7 separate regions of the Homo sapiens genome follow, and all the other regions are linked to region 7. Evidence: promoter capture Hi-C in 16 types of primary human blood cells and fetal thymus (Javierre and others, 2016). All regions are on one chromosome and are shown on one strand. Each heading gives the region's core, a stretch centred on a gene start or on the middle of the fragment in contact. The rest is flanking DNA. Distances are from core to core; before and after follow the strand shown.

Evidence for each region. The method cuts DNA at HindIII sites, captures the fragments that hold promoters and counts their contacts. A CHiCAGO score of 5 or more calls a contact.
Region 1: a fragment that was not itself captured here is called in contact with the fragment with the promoter of YAE1-DT in region 7 in 3 of 17 cell types (naive B cells, total B cells and M1 macrophages); the score reaches 5.5 in naive B cells.
Region 2: a contact is called between a fragment that was not itself captured here and the fragment with the promoter of YAE1-DT in region 7, in 1 of 17 cell types (erythroblasts). The highest score is 5.1, in erythroblasts.
Region 3: a fragment that was not itself captured here is called in contact with the fragment with the promoter of YAE1-DT in region 7 in 2 of 17 cell types (total B cells and erythroblasts); the score reaches 5.8 in total B cells.
Region 4: a fragment that was not itself captured here is called in contact with the fragment with the promoter of YAE1-DT in region 7 in 2 of 17 cell types (M0 macrophages and M1 macrophages); the score reaches 5.3 in M0 macrophages.
Region 5: a contact is called between a fragment that was not itself captured here and the fragment with the promoter of YAE1-DT in region 7, in 1 of 17 cell types (activated CD4 T cells). The highest score is 5.3, in activated CD4 T cells.
Region 6: a contact is called between a fragment that was not itself captured here and the fragment with the promoter of YAE1-DT in region 7, in 4 of 17 cell types (megakaryocytes, fetal thymus, M1 macrophages and 1 more). The highest score is 6.4, in megakaryocytes.

The regions. Positions count from the first base shown.
Region 1 is chr7:38,821,235-38,823,934 of GRCh38, forward strand. It overlaps VPS41 (VPS41 subunit of HOPS complex), which reads right to left. Exons shown (of 29, transcript NM_014396.4): 6 at 1-31. Among named protein-coding and RNA genes, the nearest start is that of VPS41, 87 kb to the right of the region's middle. The HindIII fragment of the contact is 1,412 bases long and covers 552-1,963 here.
Region 2 is chr7:38,847,426-38,850,125 of GRCh38, forward strand. All of the region lies in intron 4 of VPS41 (VPS41 subunit of HOPS complex), which reads right to left. Among named protein-coding and RNA genes, the nearest start is that of VPS41, 60 kb to the right of the region's middle. The HindIII fragment of the contact is 903 bases long and covers 955-1,857 here.
Region 3 is chr7:38,878,102-38,880,801 of GRCh38, forward strand. All of the region lies in intron 2 of VPS41 (VPS41 subunit of HOPS complex), which reads right to left. Among named protein-coding and RNA genes, the nearest start is that of VPS41, 30 kb to the right of the region's middle. The HindIII fragment of the contact is 1,385 bases long and covers 645-2,029 here.
Region 4 is chr7:38,744,984-38,747,683 of GRCh38, forward strand. VPS41 (VPS41 subunit of HOPS complex) reads right to left here. Exons shown (of 29, transcript NM_014396.4): 23 at 576-630. Among named protein-coding and RNA genes, the nearest start is that of AMPH, 110 kb to the left of the region's middle. The HindIII fragment of the contact is 705 bases long and covers 921-1,625 here.
Region 5 is chr7:40,078,269-40,080,968 of GRCh38, forward strand. It overlaps CDK13 (cyclin dependent kinase 13), which reads left to right. Exons shown (of 14, transcript NM_003718.5): 11 at 452-583. Among named protein-coding and RNA genes, the nearest start is that of MPLKIP, 55 kb to the right of the region's middle. The HindIII fragment of the contact is 1,820 bases long and covers 403-2,222 here.
Region 6 is chr7:38,792,149-38,794,848 of GRCh38, forward strand. The region is part of intron 9 of VPS41 (VPS41 subunit of HOPS complex); the gene reads right to left. Among named protein-coding and RNA genes, the nearest start is that of VPS41, 120 kb to the right of the region's middle. The HindIII fragment of the contact is 7,889 bases long and covers 1-2,700 here.
Region 7 is chr7:39,565,043-39,567,742 of GRCh38, forward strand. It overlaps YAE1-DT (YAE1 divergent transcript), which reads right to left and starts at 1,307. Exons shown (of 3, transcript NR_187579.1): 1 at 1,101-1,307. It overlaps YAE1 (YAE1 maturation factor of ABCE1), which reads left to right and starts at 1,362. Exons shown (of 3, transcript NM_020192.5): 1 at 1,362-1,505. The coding sequence starts at 1,377. It also overlaps the pseudogene TMX1P1. RefSeq lists an enhancer at 1,199-1,648. The HindIII fragment of the contact is 5,827 bases long and covers 1-2,075 here.

The DNA.
Region 1 (2,700 bases), core at 8-2,507, 740 kb before region 7:
CTTCTCCAGAATACAGTCCAAATACCTGCACCTACAAAGAAAATGGATTGTATCAGCTCACCATGACAGCAATAGAGAAGGCTACTGAGTCAGTATGAACACATACTATCAATAAGAAAAGTAGAATATTTAATAATTTTAAGGCCCCGTGACCTCTATTAAATATCTAATGAAAACAATCCCATCAGCCACGTACGGTGGCTCACGCCTGTAATCCCAGCACTTTGAGAGGCAGAGGCCGAGGTGGGTGGATCACCTAAGGTCAGGAGTTGAAGACCACCCTGACCAATATGGTGAAACCCCATCTCTACTAAAAATATGAAAATTAGCCAGGCATGGTGGCGTGCATCTGTAGTCCCAGCTACTCAGGAGGATGATAGGAGAATTGCTTGAACCTGGGAGGCAGAGGTTGCAGAGAGCCGAGATTGCGCCACTGCACTCCAGCATGGGTGACAGAGTGAGACTCCGTCTCAAAAAAAAAAAAAAAGAAAAAGAAAAAGAAAAAAGAAAAAAGAAAATCCCATCAGGTTGAGGGTACTTTGCTGCAATTAAGCTTTCATAAGCATTCCATGGATAGAGTTCCCTTCAATCACCACAAATTGTATTAAATGCATGCCATTAAAACAATGAAACAGATTTGAACAAGTTATTACTATTCTTTTATAAACTTCCATAAGCTGTCCCTAAAGGAACTATTTTTTCATCCCTTAAAGGAAAGGGGAGATTTTTTTTTAGTGTCTCTCATATATATAAAATAAACCAACCATGTAGATCAGTGTGGTAAGAGATTAGGTGAACCACACTTCACTCACAACTTATGCTAAATCTACTGAGAATACAGAAATGAAAGATTTAAGTTCCTGCTTATCAGTGTCTCCCTTAAAGTTGTTCCAGGCTACTTTATTCATACTTAGTATATTTTCTGAGTGCTTTACTTAACAACAACAAAACAAAAACAAAACTGAAATATAAAACACATGCTATAAAAAATACAAATCATAAATTTATAGTTTGATGAATTTTTATGACACGAACATATCCGTGTAACCATCACTCTGATCAAGAAATAGAAGCCAATAAGCTCCTTTGTTTCCCTTTCCAGTAAATAACACCCTCCAACTAATCACTACCCTCAAAGCTACTGGCATGGATAAGTTGTGCTGGTGTTAGAATTTTGTAAGTAAGGAATCATATTCTATTTCACTGATTTATTTCATTCATTATTTAACATTTTCTTTGTGAGATTTAGCCACACTGTTGGATATAGTAGAGGTTGCTTCTTTGCCACTGCTGGGTATTATTTCATGTATGAATATATCACAATTCACATATCCATCTTCCATTGATGACCACTTAGGTTGTTTCCAGATTGGGGCTATCATGAATACTGCTGCTAAGAACATGCTTTGCAAATCTTTTGGTGGACTTATATACATATTCATGAAGGGTGTATACCTTGGAATGGAATTGCTGAGTCATAGGTTATGTGCATGTTCACATTTAATAGGCAAACCATTTCACAAAGTGGTTTCAAATTAATTATGCTCTCACCATGAGAAAGTTTGAATGTTTGTGTTCCCCCAAATTCATTACGTTGAAACCTAACCTCCAAAGTGATGGTTATTTATACTCTCAGCATAAGAATTCCATGAGATCTCAAATGCTTGGAGCTAACAAATAGTACTAGAGCCAATGAGAACTATTTCCCAACATTGGAATGTGTTCACTGTCTTTCTAGTCTCTAGTATAGTGGTATTATTCTTCTTTAACTTTTGTAGGAATTCACTGGTGAAGCCATCTAGGTCTCATGGCTTTGCTATGGTCTGAATGTATGTGTTCTCCCCAAATTCACTGTGTTGAAACCTAACCTCCAAGGTGATGGTATTAAGAAGTAGGGCCTTTAGTGAGTGATTAAATTATGAAGGTGGAGCCCTCATAGGTGAGATTGGTGCCCTTATAAGAAAGCTTGGGGTAACTAGCTATAGCTTGAGGTGACTAGCTAGTCCTTTTGCTCTTCTGCCTTCTGCCACACAGGGACACATAATTCATCCCTTCTGCCATGTGAAGTTACAATAACAAGGCGCCATCTTGGAAGCAAGGAGAGCAGCCCTCACCAGATGCCAAATGCTGGCACCTTGAAATCAGACTTCCCAGCCTTCAGAACTGTGAGAAATAAATTTCTGTTATTTATAAACTACCCAGTCTAAGGTATTTTGTTATGGCAACACAAATGGACTAAGATAGTTTCTTTGTGAAAAGGTTTCCAATTATAAATTCTATTTGAAAAATAAATATAGGACTACTTAAACTTTCAATTTCTTCTTATTTTAATCTTGGTAAGTTCTGAGTGGTTCATTCTTTCAAGCCCCAAGCAGGAAATTCACTTATGTTATAATTTTGGGAAATAGATTCATGCATTAAAAGTTAAAGTTTTGGGGACCATCCACTCATTTTGTAACTACTGTTTTTATATACTTGTGCCAAGTTTGTTATTTGGGTTCTACAAACAGGAGATAATATAATGTAAAACAGAAGGAATTTCATTTTTCCTGAGGCTGGCCTTGAAATGTATTCTTCACATGGCAAATACACATATGTCCCCCCCATCACCTGCTGCTCATTGTTCAGAGGGTATAAAGTCATTACTTTTATGGAAATATATAGGCATAGGATAATATAACAAACATCTTATAAAATAAT
Region 2 (2,700 bases), core at 156-2,655, 720 kb before region 7:
AATGAATTTTTTTTCTCTAACAGTAAGGCAACAGAAATGGGGTTGTCATCGCTGAGACTATATAACTAAAAAGGAAATTATAAGTATGTTAATATTCTGTAAAATTAAGTCTTAGATCCTTAGGCTCAGATCCTTAGGCTACCCTAATCCTAAGGATCTGCTATGCCACACCTTTGAGAACAAACTCCACTAATAAAAGCAGCTAAAGAAAGCCAAACATATAGCAGACCCATGAAGGCTGCAGAGCTTTCTGAACATCTCAGCAGGGCCCATAAATATCCCTGTTTAAGTTCTCAATATACAAGTAAATGATACCATCAATGATAAAGGAAAAATCTGTTAGGAGTAAAGGTGTGTTCTTATTTTTCTCACTTTTATTTTTGATTTAATGATAGCTGCAGCAATGCTAATGCATTCTATTTATCTAAAATCTAAACATTTGAGAGAGTAAAGCCCTTGTTTTCCACATTAGTAAAGTCACTTACCTAAAAAGGGTGGGTAGTACAAATAATTTAAATAACTGAGACCAAGTTATTAACCAAAGAGAAAATGCCTAATTTATTTTTCCAACATATGACGAAGAAAGACTACTTAACACTTCACAAATTTGACTCTACTTCCACCACAGAAATTATTGTTATAATGCTCTCCAGTGTAAAAACACTGCTTTATCAATCCCCATTAAATCATTTTCCAAGCAGTCTCTCAAAACTTTTCAAAAGAAGCATCTTACAAGCCATGTTGCAATGTTGCTACATCGAAAAGACATTTCTGAAGTCAACTCACTAGACCTGCACTGGGATCGACTTCACACACCTAATTACTCAAGCTTAATAATGTTCTTAAAATACTATTTGTGTAATGTGATAAAAGATACCCACTCCTCCCAAATAAACACAGGAGCTGAGGGATAGGGAGGCAGCAAAATGGGTGTAAGAATGGGTGTGTCGCAGAAGCTTCTCTTTTTTTCCCCTTCGTTTTTCTTTCTTTCTTCCCTACCTCCCTTTCAGTTTGCCTACCCCATATACAATTGAACATTATTAAAGCCAAACATATGAATAAATTCAAAAATAATAGTTCTTCAGGAAGTGTAGTAAACATGTTCAGTTGGACTCTTAGCTTGATCCACCTTCTGATAACGACTAATGTTTACTAAGCCTTATGTTACATATTTTACATGTATTCGTTCATATAATTCTCAAAACCATCATTGAAATCAGGTGTGATTATGATCCACACTTTACAGATGAAGAAAGTGTGGTAACACACCAAACTAATGAACGTGTGGCAGGGCTGGCTGGCTGGCGTCTGACCCCAAGCCTGGCCTGCGTGCAGTGCTGCCACCTCCAGAACCCGTCAACCATCCTTCTGCTGGACATTACCGCCCCGCCAGAGTTTCTTCTCTAATCATTATATCACCACTGCTCTTTCTACATCCAATCTGGGATAGTAGATTCCACTAATGCAATGGGGTCAAGGGCTGGACAGGAGCTAAGGAAAGAAAATGGGAAATCAGTAGGTTCAAGGGACTCATTTTCGTGTAATTTTTTTTCTGGCAAGGTAAGAACTTCAGTATCTGTCACAATATCAAGGAATAAATTCTTCTCACAGTCCAGTGAGAATTTTTTTTTCTTGAGGAAAAGTGAAGACAATGTAAAAAGCAAAACTTTAAAACTTTAGAAGGACATACAAAGAATATTGAAACAGGAAAAGTTCCCTCATCTCCTTCACAGGGCATGTGATGGGAGTGTGGCTCACTTCTTCGGTGCCCTGCTGCTCAAACCCCTAGGAGGAACATGCAGATGGGTGGGCTGTGGTGCTCCTGACCCCACGGCAGCATCTAGGGGTGAATGTTTAAGCTTCTGAAGCCCCAGTGGGGGTGTGTTACAGGATGCTCTTTTAGTTTAGCCTTCTGTAGGTGGCTTGTGTTAGTCAGCTCAATCAGACCCCCTGCTTTATAGCAAGGACAAAGGGCTTTCTGTATCCTAGGGTTTCTTGCCTTGAATCAGATCACACCTGGGCTTGGAGAATTACTGCAAGGTTTTATTGAGTGGTAGCTCTCAGCAGATGGGGGAGCCCGAAAGGAGACAGTTTTCTCCTGAAGTCTGGCCGCTCAGTAGCCCGGCCTCTCCTCCAACCTCCCAGGCCAAACTCTGTGTTGTTCTACCAGTTGATGGCCTACCAGCGTGCCGGTGTCTGCCGGTGCCTGCTGGCATGCTCTTCAACCAATGTGCTCCTCTCAACATCCCGCTTGTGTGTTCTTCTGCTGATGTGCTCCTCTGGACGTCCAGCTGCTTGTGTCTCTGCCCACTAGGGCCTCAGGGGTTTTATAGGCACAGGATGGGGTGTGGCAGGACAGGGTGGTCTTGGGAAATGCAACATTTGGGCAGGAAAACAGGAATTCCTGTCCTCACCTGGGTCCTTAGGTATAGGCCCAGGGGTGGAGCCCTAGCCAGAGACACACCCTTCCCTTCCCAGCACTTCCTTGCCCCCCTTCCATATCTTTACAACTTTGTAGAAGCAAAATACAATTTTCCCTTAGAAGACACAAAACACACAAACTGTAAATGAGAAGACTGATACATATTTACTGCATTAAAATAAAAAATTTCTGAACCTAAAACACCATAAATGGGAAACTGAAAGATAAGCCCACAGACTAGCAGACATTTGTCACTCTTCAAATAAGAAGTTGTGTCC
Region 3 (2,700 bases), core at 87-2,586, 690 kb before region 7:
AGTCCAGCCTTAAGCAGTGCAGGACCAAAGGACCTCTAATAGCAGGAAGGTGGGCACTGCAGGGACCAGAGAAAACTAACAAAAGTAAAGCTAAAATGAATTAATAAACCAGAAAAAAAAATAGTAAGTCCAAGCATTAATACCTTTTACAGACAAATTGAATATGAGACACACAAAAAAACAGTGAGAAAATAAAAGCCATTAAAGTACTATCTATCTCATGCAGAAAGGTACATGGCTCAGGCTGTTTCAGTGGCAAGTTCTATTAAAAACCTTCAAAGAATGGAAAATTCCCAACTTATTTAAGCTGCCCCATAAGAGGCAAATATAAAAACTTCCAAATTCATTTTGATAACCATGATATCAAAACTCCCAAACAGTACACCAAAAACAACAAAAAATATACATAAAATTCTGTCATCTCATGTAGAAATTTAAATGTAGAAAGTCTAAATATCATAAATCAAACCCCGCATATATTAATAAAAAACATGTAAGATCAAATATTGCAAAAACACAAAGACTGAGTATTAGGAAATCTGACGTCATTTGATAAGTCAGAGGAAAAAGAAAACGCAGGGCCATCTTGACAGACACTGCAGACAGCATTTATAAAGTTCAACACTTGTTTCTGATCTTAAAAAAGCTTTCAGTAAATACAAAGGTTTCTTTACCGAAGAGCTAAGAATGAAGAGCCACGAATGACCATTTGAATTCAGAAGTCAACATGATATGGAGCAATGAAATAAGAGAAACATTCCCATCATCAGCAGGAAACAACGCACAGGTGCCAACAATCACTTCTGCTTTTTTCAAAACCAACTTAGAAGTTTTAGCCAAGGCAAAAGACAAGAAAATGGAAAACGTAATAAATTGATCCTAGTTGGTATGGTCTTATTTGAAGACAGTATGACTAGAAAGAACAAAACATGGCTTCTGCCAAGACAGAGAGCTGACCTGTGCTGCTGGCCTTCTACCCCCAACTCAGCCCTGAAGACATGCTAAAAATGAGAGGAAAGAGGGATTCCAGAAATTAACATGCCCAAGTAAGAAACTATGGAGGCACTGAAACGACCCACAGTGGGGAGCCAGGGGCAACAGTAAGGATGAGGGTCAAGGAAAGCTGGTAGATCCAGCGTTGACCTCTCCCCCGGGTGCCTGGTTTTGCTTCCCCATTCACTACAGAAATGGGCAGCAACAGCCCAGCCTCACAGGGGTGAGGACTGGCCGGCTGCATTCACTCCTCCATTTTCTCCCTTCCTCCTAACAAGTAGAGATGCTTGTTAGGGGCTGCTTCCTCTGTGGATTAACTCAAAGTGCACTTCATGAAGGCTCAGAAGAGTCACCTCACAAATTCCCACACTGAATCGTATTTTTGGAGGAAGTATTCAAATAACAGAAAAAAAAAAATCCAGAAGCTGCTGTAAGACAGTGGTCCCCAACCTTTTTGGCACCAGGGACTGGTTTTGTGGAAGACAATTTTTCCACCAGGGTGAGGGTGGTGGTGATGGTCTCGGTTTGGGGATGAAATTGTTCCACCTCAGATCATCAGGCATTAGATCCTCATAAGGAGTGCAACCTAGATCCTTCGCATGCACAGATCACAGTAGGGTTCATGCTTGTATGAGAATCTAATGCTGTGGCTGATCTAACAGGAGGTGGACCGCAGGCGGTAATGCTCACTCCCCCACTGCGCACATGGACCGGTGGGTTGGAGACCCCTGCTGAAATAGGTATGAGATGTAAGGACAATCAAGTATCTTAATAAAGGTCACTAATGTCATTTCTTTAAAAAAAAAAAAAAGAAAGAAAGAAAATTATCCAAAATCCTACTGAAATTCATAATCAAGAGCCAGTCACAAAACAAACTAAAATTTTTCTTTTGCCATTTCTACCATATGCAGCGCATATACACTGTACTAGTTACTTAAAACCTTGGTTACCTTGCCTTTTGTGAAAAGGAAATGATAACCTGCACCTCAGAGGACTTTTGTAAGAATTAAATGCAATAAATGTACGTAAAGCACAAAGCTTAGTATCTGGTAATACCCAGTGAATGTGAAATACTAAAAATACAGCCATGATGTGTATTACAACCCCAACTTCACACTGCAGAACTCATGGCCTCCCTTCTAAGTTACTTCCTATCACATGACCAGACCATAAAACCAAACAGTAACACTTCTTATCTAATTACCTCATTGTTTTAAGCTATTAAAAGATGAAGATACATTACTTTTTATTTTACCACATCATTTAAAAAAATTTTTTTTCACACACATTTAAGTGTGAATCTTGTTATTAGGAATGTAAAAGGAAATGCTACCCTCTCCTATTTTAGCCAAGAACCTCTCCTGGATGCCTGTAAAGACTAAAAGTAGCCCATGACAGCCCAAATCCCTCACAACTGCCCAATCACTGGTGATGGAAATGATGACAACAGACTAAACCCTTAAGCTCTCTCAGAGGTTTCCCCACTCCCATCCCTCCCTGATGCGATTCTGAGAGACGTATTTAATCTACTCAGGTCTTTGGGGAAAACAGTCATATTCTAAAGTAAAGAACTGTGATGACATGGATGCCTGTGAATCTCTGTATTTAAAAACGGCTGCACTGAAACTGAAATAGCTCATGGATGAAAGAAACCTTTGTGCTATTTAGATTTGTTATAGCATTTCTTGAGCCTGCAGAGACAGGAAT
Region 4 (2,700 bases), core at 23-2,522, 820 kb before region 7:
ACCCACATTGTTGTCATGCACGTGGCTCATTTTGGAAGAATGTGAAAAGATGACAAGTTTTGTTTCTTGGTATGCATGGTACAAAAATTGTGACTCATGTGGAGGTAGGAGCCAGAAGACCAGGAACACTGACACCTAGATTATATTAAAAAGCTCTCCTCCTTCTCCAAAACTATGGTATTCAATTGCATTTCCTCTAGTTATTTAGGGTGTGATTTCTAAAAGTGATTATTTATTTTCTACCAATATGATGGTAATATAAGCTGATTATAATTTTTTAGAAAATGAAAAAACTTGTCAACTCATCTACAACTTAATCTATGTTGTGAGGTATAAACTGATAAATTTTGATATGTTGATTATACATTGCCAATATGTTATTTCAACATTTATGAAACAACTCTTCCTTCTTTACTGTGCTGTGAAGTCTGTTTCATATATTAAATTATTGTAAAAATAGGCTCATATTCTGTGTTACGTTGGTCTAAAACCTATGTCCTTTCTTACACAATTTACTTCATGTTGTCATCCCATTTCTTAGTTTATGGGGACCAAAATGAATAAAAGCTACTTACTCAGAAGATAAACTGTCTCTTCTACAAAGTTTCTCTGTTGACAGATCTCAAGAGCCTTCAATTAAAGCAGGGTAAAAATGTTACTATAGGCGACCAAATAAGAACAAACAGTAATAAAGTCATTTAAACTTACACTTGAAAGAATTTTTCCACAGCTTCTTTAAAAATAAAACAAAGCAAACAAATAAAGAACACATCTCCCTAGAATAGCTGCACTCAGTTACCTCTCAGAGGTACTGGACTCTACACAATTCAATTTAAAACATATTTGAAGCTACTCAGAACATTTCATGAGCAAGAGTAGAAAACAAGACACCAAATGAAAAGAAAGGGCCTTTCCCACTAAGCTTTCTCTCTTTACACTACTTCAGGTTTCCTTACAGCACTGCTTCCTTCCAAATCTGTAGTCATTTGTTTAAGCTCTGTTTCCCTCCATTAAGATGTAAGGAATGTTGCTCATGGTTGAACTTTTCCTAGTATTGTGCATACCATAAGCTCAGGAAATATGAATTCATGCTGCATGAATGAACGAATGAATGATTGAATTTACTAGGAATATTTGTACTGCCAGATCACAGGGGCTGAAAGAGAACTCTGCTCAAGGATCTGTCAAAGGTGAGAAGGAAAAAACACTTTTGATGATCAAGAAGGATCCAAAAAGGAGCAACTATGCAGATGAGAGCATTTCCATTAGTCTTAAAAAAAAAAAAAAGACCTACTATATATTGATAAATTACTTACTAATTCTAAATTAATCAGGATACATTTACTATATTCTCTGTGCTGGGTGCTAGAGGGTCAGGTTAGATAGAGATGCAAAGATGACAATAATAAAAATGTTAGTGATGATTATAGGTAAGAGGAAAACAAAGAAGAGAATAATGGAGGAGGCTTAGTAGGAGCATTAGCAGCATGAGTCCACCCCCGGGAGCTCAGGGTCCAGGAAGTGACAGAGATGTGACAACGCATTATTCCACGATTAGAGTAACATGAACAAAGGGCCATGTGTACAGAGGAGGGACACTGAAACTGTGTGGTCCTCTTGTGAGAAGCTTCAAGGGGAAGTGGCATCTGAACCGGGTGCAGTATGATGAATGAGTGCACCTGGGAAACCTTATCTCATACCCTGCCTACAAAACTTTCTATTGCATCGCTCCACTCAGACTTAAAGCTGAGAATCTCTACCACGACTTACAAGGCATCCACAACCTAGCCCTTAATTTCTGTGCAGCTTCACCTGCCTCTGCTCACCTCTCCATTGCGTCCCCTTGCCTGAAATGCTTCCCTTACCCTGACTCTCCACTATTGGATGGCACTACCTTACGTCATGAGGTCAAGGTCACCCAAGGTGGACGAACAAGAGGAAGGAGCCCCGGTCTCTGACCCCGCGGCATGGTGCTCTCAGCAGGGCCACTCCACCAACACTTCCACGTGACAGAAAAAGAAACTGTTGCTCTGTTAAGCCACAATTATTTTGGGATTTTTATCACTCACAGTTGAATCTAATCCTAGCTAATACCGAGAAAATCTTCCTTTATTTTGATTAAAAATATGGTTTACCTATTCCTATATGGTCTTGCCTGTCAATCACCATTGTAAATGATGAAACTTTCTTACCAACTCTTCACTCTCCTGCAGTGATACTACTGCAGAGACAAAAAACATAAGTAAGAAGTTAAATAATAAAGCAAAATAGTGCAAATACATCAGAGGACACGGGATTCAAACAAAAAACCACTGAGAAGCCAACTGAGTGCCTAGATTTGTTCTGGGTGTTAAGATACAGATAGTTTATAGTTGAGTGGGACTGCCATTCACAGATAAATAGAACACTGTAATACAACTGAATAAGGAGAATGTTTAGAGAAAGATAGTCTGACTAATGATAAGCATTTATGCTGCTTAAAATAATTTATTATTAAAAGGTATCCATGAATCAATTCTGTACTTGGAAATTCACTTACACACTTTAAAATACCATTCAAGATTTCAGACAGAACCATTACCCATTTTCTTCTGCACATGAGAATGCTTAAGAACATGCTAGTCTCAAACCACAAAAGAGTTTGCAGTTTGAAGCCTCACCTGAGTTATCCAAGACAGCAGCCACTTGCTCTATGTGTCT
Region 5 (2,700 bases), core at 63-2,562, 510 kb after region 7:
CAGATTACCATTTTACCATTATTATGGAATCAGTGATTTGAGATTGTGTGTTTGGTTTGGTGCTTACGTGAAAGAACTTTAATAAGATCATTTAAATGTTACTGGAACAGCTTTCAAGTTACTTGAGCTCAAGTTTTCATTTTGCTTTAGAAAAAACTATACTGTTCAGTTCTTAATTTGTATAATAACAGCAAATTACCGATAAGTAACAATATATACTATTGTTTAGAAAGTGGTTACAAAAATTATGTAAAAATGAAATATTTATTCAAAGGAAAATTCGGATTTATTGAAGTAAAGTATTATGCACATATTAAAAAAGTATTTACAATTATTTTTAAATGATCTTAGTTTTAGTTTTAAAATTTAATTAAAAATAATTTAAGCTCCTAAAGAAACATAAGCTTGTGTCTAAAGAACACATCTAACTTTTGTAATCCTCTCATGCTAGTATTCCTGCAGCTGCGCTAGACTTATTTGATTACATGCTTGCCTTGGATCCTAGTAAGCGCTGCACTGCTGAACAGGCTCTTCAGTGCGAGTTCCTCCGAGATGTGGAACCCTCAAAAATGCCTCCACCAGAGTAAGTGACTTTTTATCCTATTATTATTATATATTATTATTATATTTATTATATTAAAACAGTTTTAATAACATATATAATAAGATATTTCATGTCTGGTTATGAGAAAAATATAATAAAGGAAAGATAAAACAGCAGTAATACACATAATTTGCACATCTGGGATATAGATGCTTGCTTAATGTTTACCCATAGGGCTAGCAAAAACAGCTGCCTTCTAGCTAATTTTAGGCTTGATTGACCTCAAGATTTAATAATATATTTCAACTCTAAGAAAATATTACTGCTGCCGGGCGCGGTGGCTCACGCCTATAATCCCAGCACTTTGGGAGGCCGAGGTGGGCGGATCATGAGGTCAGGAGTTTGAGACCAGTCTGGCCAACATGGCAAAACCCCGTCTCTACTAAAATTACAAAAATTAGCCAGACGTGGTGGCAGGCGCCTGTAATCCCAGCTACTTGGGAGGCTGAGGCAGGAGAATCGCTTGAACCCGCGAGGCGGAGGTTGCAGTGAGCCAAGATCATGGCATTGCACTCCAGCCTGGGTGACAAGAGCAAGACTCCGTCTCAAAAAAAAAAAAATATTACTGCTGTTGCTATTCTAATACTACTTCTACTAAATACTTAACACTACTACTGGTACAGCTATAGCCATAATTTTGAGTGCCATGCTAAGCATTTTTCATTTATTACATTAATCTTTATAACCTTATAAGGTAGGTATTAGTATTATTATCATCACCACTTCACAGAGGAGGAAGCAGGCTCAGAGAGGTTAAGAAACTTGCCCAAGAATACAAATCTAGTAAAGGGTACAGCCAGCTCTCAAATTCACATTAGTCCAATAAGTAAGAGAGGTTCTGAAAATACTTTATAGCATAGTATACAATATAAATTTCTTATCATTGAATGAAAAGAATGTTAGTATCAGAAGCCTGTATAGAAGGAATTATTGTCTGATGGGGGAAATATATAGAGTTTGGGAGTCAAAATAGCTGGCTTCTCTTGAACCTGTAACTTCAAATGGCTCCTGTTATTTCTCTAGGATTGATTTGGGGAGTAGGGGGGAAGGAAAACGTTCATTTGCATTCCTTGACAGGATCTAGAAACCTTGTAGGTATTTTCTTAGTAATTTTTATTTTATTTTTTTGTCTTGAGACAAAGTCTCACTCTGTCTCCCAGGCTGGGGTGCAGTGGCACGATCTCAGCTCACTACAACCTCTGCGTCTCAGGTTCAAGTGATTCTCCTGCTTCAGCCTCCCGAGTAGCTGGGATTACAGGCATGCACCACCACATCTGGCTAATTTTTGTATTTTTAGTAGAGATGGGATTTCACCATGTTGGCCAGGCTGGTCTTGAACTCTTGACCTCAGGTGATCCACCCACCTTGGCCTCCTAAACTGCTAGGATTACAGATTTGAGCCACCACGCCCAGCCTTTTCTTAATAATTTTTAAAATGATAAGGAGCATCATTAAAAGCAAGCCTATTATCTATAATAATAAAATGTTTCCATGTAATAAAAATAGCATATTTTAAATGAACAGACATGGGCTCTGGAGTTCAAATCCTGGTTCTTCTGCTTATCAGTTAGATAGTGCTTATTATATTTCTATGAGGCTGTCATATTCAGCTTCAGTAAGCTTTTATTGAGCTGTACATGGTTGGCCTTTATGGGATGATTTGGGAGCCAAAAAGGATCTATTACCTGACATCATGAGGGACCTGAATTTTTCACTGTTGAATTATTGTTTCATGTTTGCTTTTTTCTTAGTGTGTATCAGTAATCTTAAAACTTGGGCTCAGTACCCCTTCAAATAACATTTTTTAAACTTCTGATTTGGAAAAATTTCAACTCTATAGAAAAATAGGAAGAATAGTACAAAGAGTATTCATGTATATCCTTTACCTAGATTCAACAGTTAATAATAGTTGGACACATTTGCTTTATCACTGTCTACTTTTTTCCTGAACTAGTTGGATATCATGTTGTGGAGGTGACACTTATAAATATGTAATCATATCTGTAAGAACTAGGACTTTATTCTACATGCATACCATATAAAGCATATGAAATTTAACATGAGAATATTTAATGGTCAATCCACATTCAGATTTC
Region 6 (2,700 bases), core at 39-2,538, 770 kb before region 7:
TCTGTGGTCTGGGCTCACCCAGCACCTGTCTCATAGGTAGGAAGTGGCAGGTAAAGGTGGGTGAATAGGTAAGTGCTACCTTAAGCTCATGTCTTGCATAAGCACAAATCAATGACTGTAAGAGCCCTTTACCACTGATAGGTGGGTTCTTGCCCATGAACTCTAATCTGCTTCCTCCACTTCTCCACATGGGTGGATAACAGGCATCTCTCAAGTAGACACACCTAAAACCAACTCTTGCCTTTTTCACTCTAAACATGCTTTATCAACAGTCTTTCCCATTTCAGCAAAAGGTAGTTTCACCTTCCAGTATGTTAGGTGACTGTGATCTTACACCCCACATCCAACTGTCAACAAATACTGCAGAGTCTACCATCAAAATATATCCAGGATCTGGTCATTTCTCACCAGCTGCATTACACTGACCTGAGACAACATTATTTTTTATGGAGATGACTGCGGTAGCCTAATTGGTCTCCCCTCTTGACTGCCCCTTTGCCGTTTAGCTCCACACAGCAACCAGAGATCCTTCCAAAATACAAGTTAGATCACTTAACTGACTCCACAACAGCTCAAAGCCCTGTGCTGGCTTCCTACCTCAGTCAAATTAAAAGCCAAAGACTTCTCAAGGGCCCCTGGGCTCCAACATCACCTGCTCCTCCACCACACCCTCCCCGACCCCCACTTACATCCCTCTCCTCCACATCTGCTCCACTCACTCTGACACAAACAGCTTCCTTGCTGTTCCTCAAAAGCACACCAATCACACTCCTGCTTCAAGAATTTTTGCACTCCTGCTCCTTCTGCTAACACCTCCTACCCCAGGCCCCCATAGAGCTGTATAACTTTTCTCTCCAGATCTCTGACCAAACAACATATTAGTTATTGGACAGGCCATCCCTGGACCACCCTATATTAAATGGTACCTACCCCAATCCCTTTTCCTATTATCCTGTTAAAATGTTCTCCTTTTTATTTGCCACCTTCAACATGCTATACTTACTTGTTTTTGTCCACCTTCCTCACTAGAACATAAATTTCCCAAGGGAAGGAACTCATTCATTTGTATATTTGTGTTCTGCAACACTAGAACACTGCCTGGCACACTGCAGGCACCTGGTAAACGTTTGTTGGGCAAATGAATGAATGAAGTAAATGGTAAGGTCCAATTGCACACTTTATTTTACTGTTTCTGGTTGCTTCTCCCCAACAAGATTGCTGTCCCTCTGAAGAAAGACCACGTCCTTATCTCCTCTTCCTTCAACAGAACTCACTAAGAGTCTACACTGAGAAGTGCTCAACATATAGAACTGAGTTTGAAGAAAAGGAACCTCCAATAAAATGAAATATTTGACATAAAAATTGTATAGAAGCTGGATCTTAACTTGGGCATAAAGAAAGGGTATATGTTTCCCATGGCTGCTATAACAGACTGCCACACTTGGTGGTTTAAAACAACAGAGATGTTGTTTTAAACATCTGTTACAGTTCCGCAGGCTACAAGTCTGAAATTGGGTTCACTGGGCTAAAATCAAGGTGTTGGCAAGGCTGTACTTCCTCTGGAGGCTCTAGGGGACAATCTGCTGTCTCCTCCAGCTTTCTGGTGGCTGCCACCATTCACTGACCACCTCACTCCAATTTCTGCCTCCACAGTGGTACTGCCTTCTCCTCCTCTCTTCCATGTTAGCATCTCCCTCTGCCTCCCTCTCATAAAGATAAACGTGATTGCATTTAGGGCCCACCCAGATAATGTAGGTTAATTCCCCATCTCAAGATCCTTAACTTAATCATATCTTTTGCTAAATAAAGTAATATTTACCTTTTTGTCATATAAAGAAACATTTATAGGTTCTAGGAATTAGGGCTTGCTATCCTTGGGGCCATTATTCAGCATACCAGAGAAAGAATTTCTGGGAGTAATGAGTAAACTTGTTACATATTTCTACAGGCTAATTTTCCTTGTCTTTCACCATAAGAAAAGAAAATCAGAACTTTAAAACTAACAAGCAACCTGGTCCATTTAAGGGATTTTTAAAATACTAAGAATATAAATTTATTGGATGAGTAACCACACACGTGGGACAGGGAGCCCAGGGAATCCCTTTTTCCATCCTACGATATAGGCACAGTTTCCTTCCTGTTACCCTAAATATAAATCAGGTTGTGTTCATGTAACACATGAAGAAAAAAGAACCTGAATGATAACAACATGAGGGCTGGGAGGGCCTGAAGTGTAACAATGTTTGTTTTGCTAATAACAATCATTACATTAATAATTTTCCACTTTCCCTTTCCAGAGAAGAGTACATTTTAAATAGCCACGTCCCCTTCATGACATTGCTAGAACTTTATATAATAATGACAGCTAACATTTATTAAGCAATTACATCAGATTCTATGCAAAACTCTTTACATGCATTGGCTCATTTATTTCTCCCCAAAACTTGTGATGTGAGAACAATTAGCACTACCACTTTGCAGATGAGGACAGTAAGGCTCACAGAGGATCCCAAAGGAAAATGGAGAAGCTGGACTTGATCCCAGGTCTGTCTGGCCTCAAAGCCTGAGCTCTTCCATGAGACTACTGCTGGGATACTCTCTCATGCCATTTTTATACTTCCACTAATTTTTAGTTTATTTTGTTCGAATTAAGCTGTCTATTTTTTAAAGGGAAACAACTTTTGGCTCTGAAGTATCTAA
Region 7 (2,700 bases), core at 57-2,556:
TTTCGAATGTGTTGCTTTTGAGTTTTAGTTGGTAATTAATATTTTAATCTCCTTCTGCATCAGTGGTTATCTCATTTCTCATTCTTGTATAATTTTGTTCTCTTTAAAAATCTGGGTCATGACAGGATTATCTATCTTATTGGTGTTTTCAAATAATACAAAAAAGAATTGGACTTACTTATTCAAGTTTTGAGGTTTTCTATTTTATTGTTATCTTTATTGCTTACTACCATTTTGTTCCTAATAAAGATATATACATATATCTTAATATATTTACATTAATAAAATATACATATTTGTAGTTTATATATTTTTTATTTGTGGGATGCCAAATTCTCTCTGGAGATTTAAAATTGTAACATGAACCAACCACCCACTCCCACACACTTATGGTTCTTACTGTGCTTATTTAAAAATTTTTTTCATAGCATTTATTTATGATCTTCTAACAAACCTTATGCTACTTATATATTGCTTATTGTTTATCCTGTCAATTTTACATGACTATAAAGTCGACAAGGGTTGGGAACTTCCGTCTGTTCATTGATGTATCCCAAAGCCTGGAATGGTACCTGACACAAGGTAGGTGTTCAATAAATTGTTAGATAAATAAATCATAATCACATGACTCATTTTACCCAGGCAAAGGGCAAAACAGGAATACTACAGGTATTCATTCATTCACCAAAATAGAGTTCAGCATTTACTATGTGTCAGAACTGTCCTGGTGTTGACACAAGTCCCCACCCTTACCAAACCAACTGTTTACTTTAGGGCATATGAACAGGAATGGGAGGCAGAAGGATATCGTGAATCAATGAAAAAATATATTGGCTTTACAAATGTACTCTATATTTCTTACTAATCTCAAATTGGCTACAGTACCTCGCTTTTCGATCCTATTTTCCTTTACTCCACAATCCTAACAGTTTAAAATGTCGGCTTGTCAAATCCTTTAAATGCAGAGGAGATTCCAAAAGAGACAAAGTATTTGGGTGGTAATCGCCCATCGACTTTACTACCTTTAATAGTTTACCAAAGCGCGCGAATGTAAAACCCAGACCATGGTAAGACTACGGTGGAAATGGAAGGTGTCTCACTGAGGGTCCCGGTTGCCTTCTGCAAAGGTGAAGGTCGTGCCGGCCACGCGAGGAAATCTGCCTCGCTCACAACTCACAGGCACACATCAACACTGCCAACCGAGGGAGCCCAAAATCACCGCAAGCGAAAGGCTCCGGCGGCGGCCACGGGCCACAGCCCGCCTCCGCGCACACGCAGCCCCTCCCGAGCCTCCACTCGCCGTCTTCGCCCCGCCTTCGGACCGGAAGGAGTTGTTGGCGCTTCCGGTGGCCTGCGACCCCGTAATTGCCTCGGTGATGTCGTGGGTTCAAGCAGCCTCCTTGATCCAGGGCCCTGGAGACAAAGGGGACGTGTTTGACGAAGAAGCAGACGAGTCGCTCCTGGCGCAGCGGGAATGGCAGAGTAACATGCAAAGACGAGTCAAAGTAAACGTGGTGTGGACGGCGCGGGGTGCTGGGTTGTGGGAAGAGGCGCGGAGTTGTGAAGAAGCTGGGTCCAGAGTGGCCCCAGCCTGGCCCGGCGCTGCTCTCTTTATCCCTAGGGACCCGGTCCGACCCGCGTCTTGCTAGGATTTCTCGATGGTTACTTGAAAGCGTGTAAAACAACAAGACGCATTCTTTGAGCGCCTACGGGATGCGTTAGAAACTGAGGACCGACCAAAATTAACTATGTGTAGACTTTGAACAGTTTGCAGTTTGTTGAGGATCACAGGGAAAGGAGCTGGAGAGAAACATACACTATACTTATTATGGCTGTCAAAGGACGTGTACGCAGTTTATATGGGTGGCTTGAATGGGTAGGGAGCCTAAAGTTAAGGAGTAGTGTTAATCAAGACATATTGAAAAGATGAACTAAAGCATGCTGTCAGAGGACAATAAGGGAAAGCTAATGTGGAATACTGGTGTCTAGGTAAGGGAATATTAAAGTTGGTTTCTTTTTTATTTGTTAGATGTAACTTTTTCATCTCTAATTTGTCTCACTATTCATTGAAACTAAGCTTAATTTCTGTGTGCAGCCTACAGTATTTCTGGGTGAGGACCAAATAGTGAGGTCCACATCCACTTAATATATTTGCCAACCATTAAATTGCCGCTAAAGCTGCAGTTGGGAATCTGCCCTGTTTAATATTTCAGTAGAGTGGTATTTGCTTAGCCCAAAAACCATGTTGTCAATTACAAAAATGCTTTATGTGAGACTGGGGCCACACTAATAAGTATTGAGCATCTTTTAAATGCTGTGGCACCGTGAGAGATGCAGAACGAAATCACTACCCACAGAGCTTTTGCAGGTTAGTTGAATTTAGGTATTATGCAAAATTTCTGAAACCAGACTTCTCATCATCCTTTTTTTTTTAAACAATTTCCTCTCTCTGCTTTGCCCTGTCTCCTCACCCACCCACACCATTCCAATCAGTTGGCAAGAGCCCAGATGTGTAATTTTCCATATATCCTTTTTGTGAAGACATTGCTAATGCTGGGTTTTGTTTTTTGTTTTTTGGTTTTTTTAATCTTTTGAAGTGATTAGAAAAGTTTATTTTGTGCTTAGGATATTTTTCTAAGGCATCACAGGTTACACATCCAAACTCTTCAATGGTATAATATTTTATATTCTAAAGGAGAG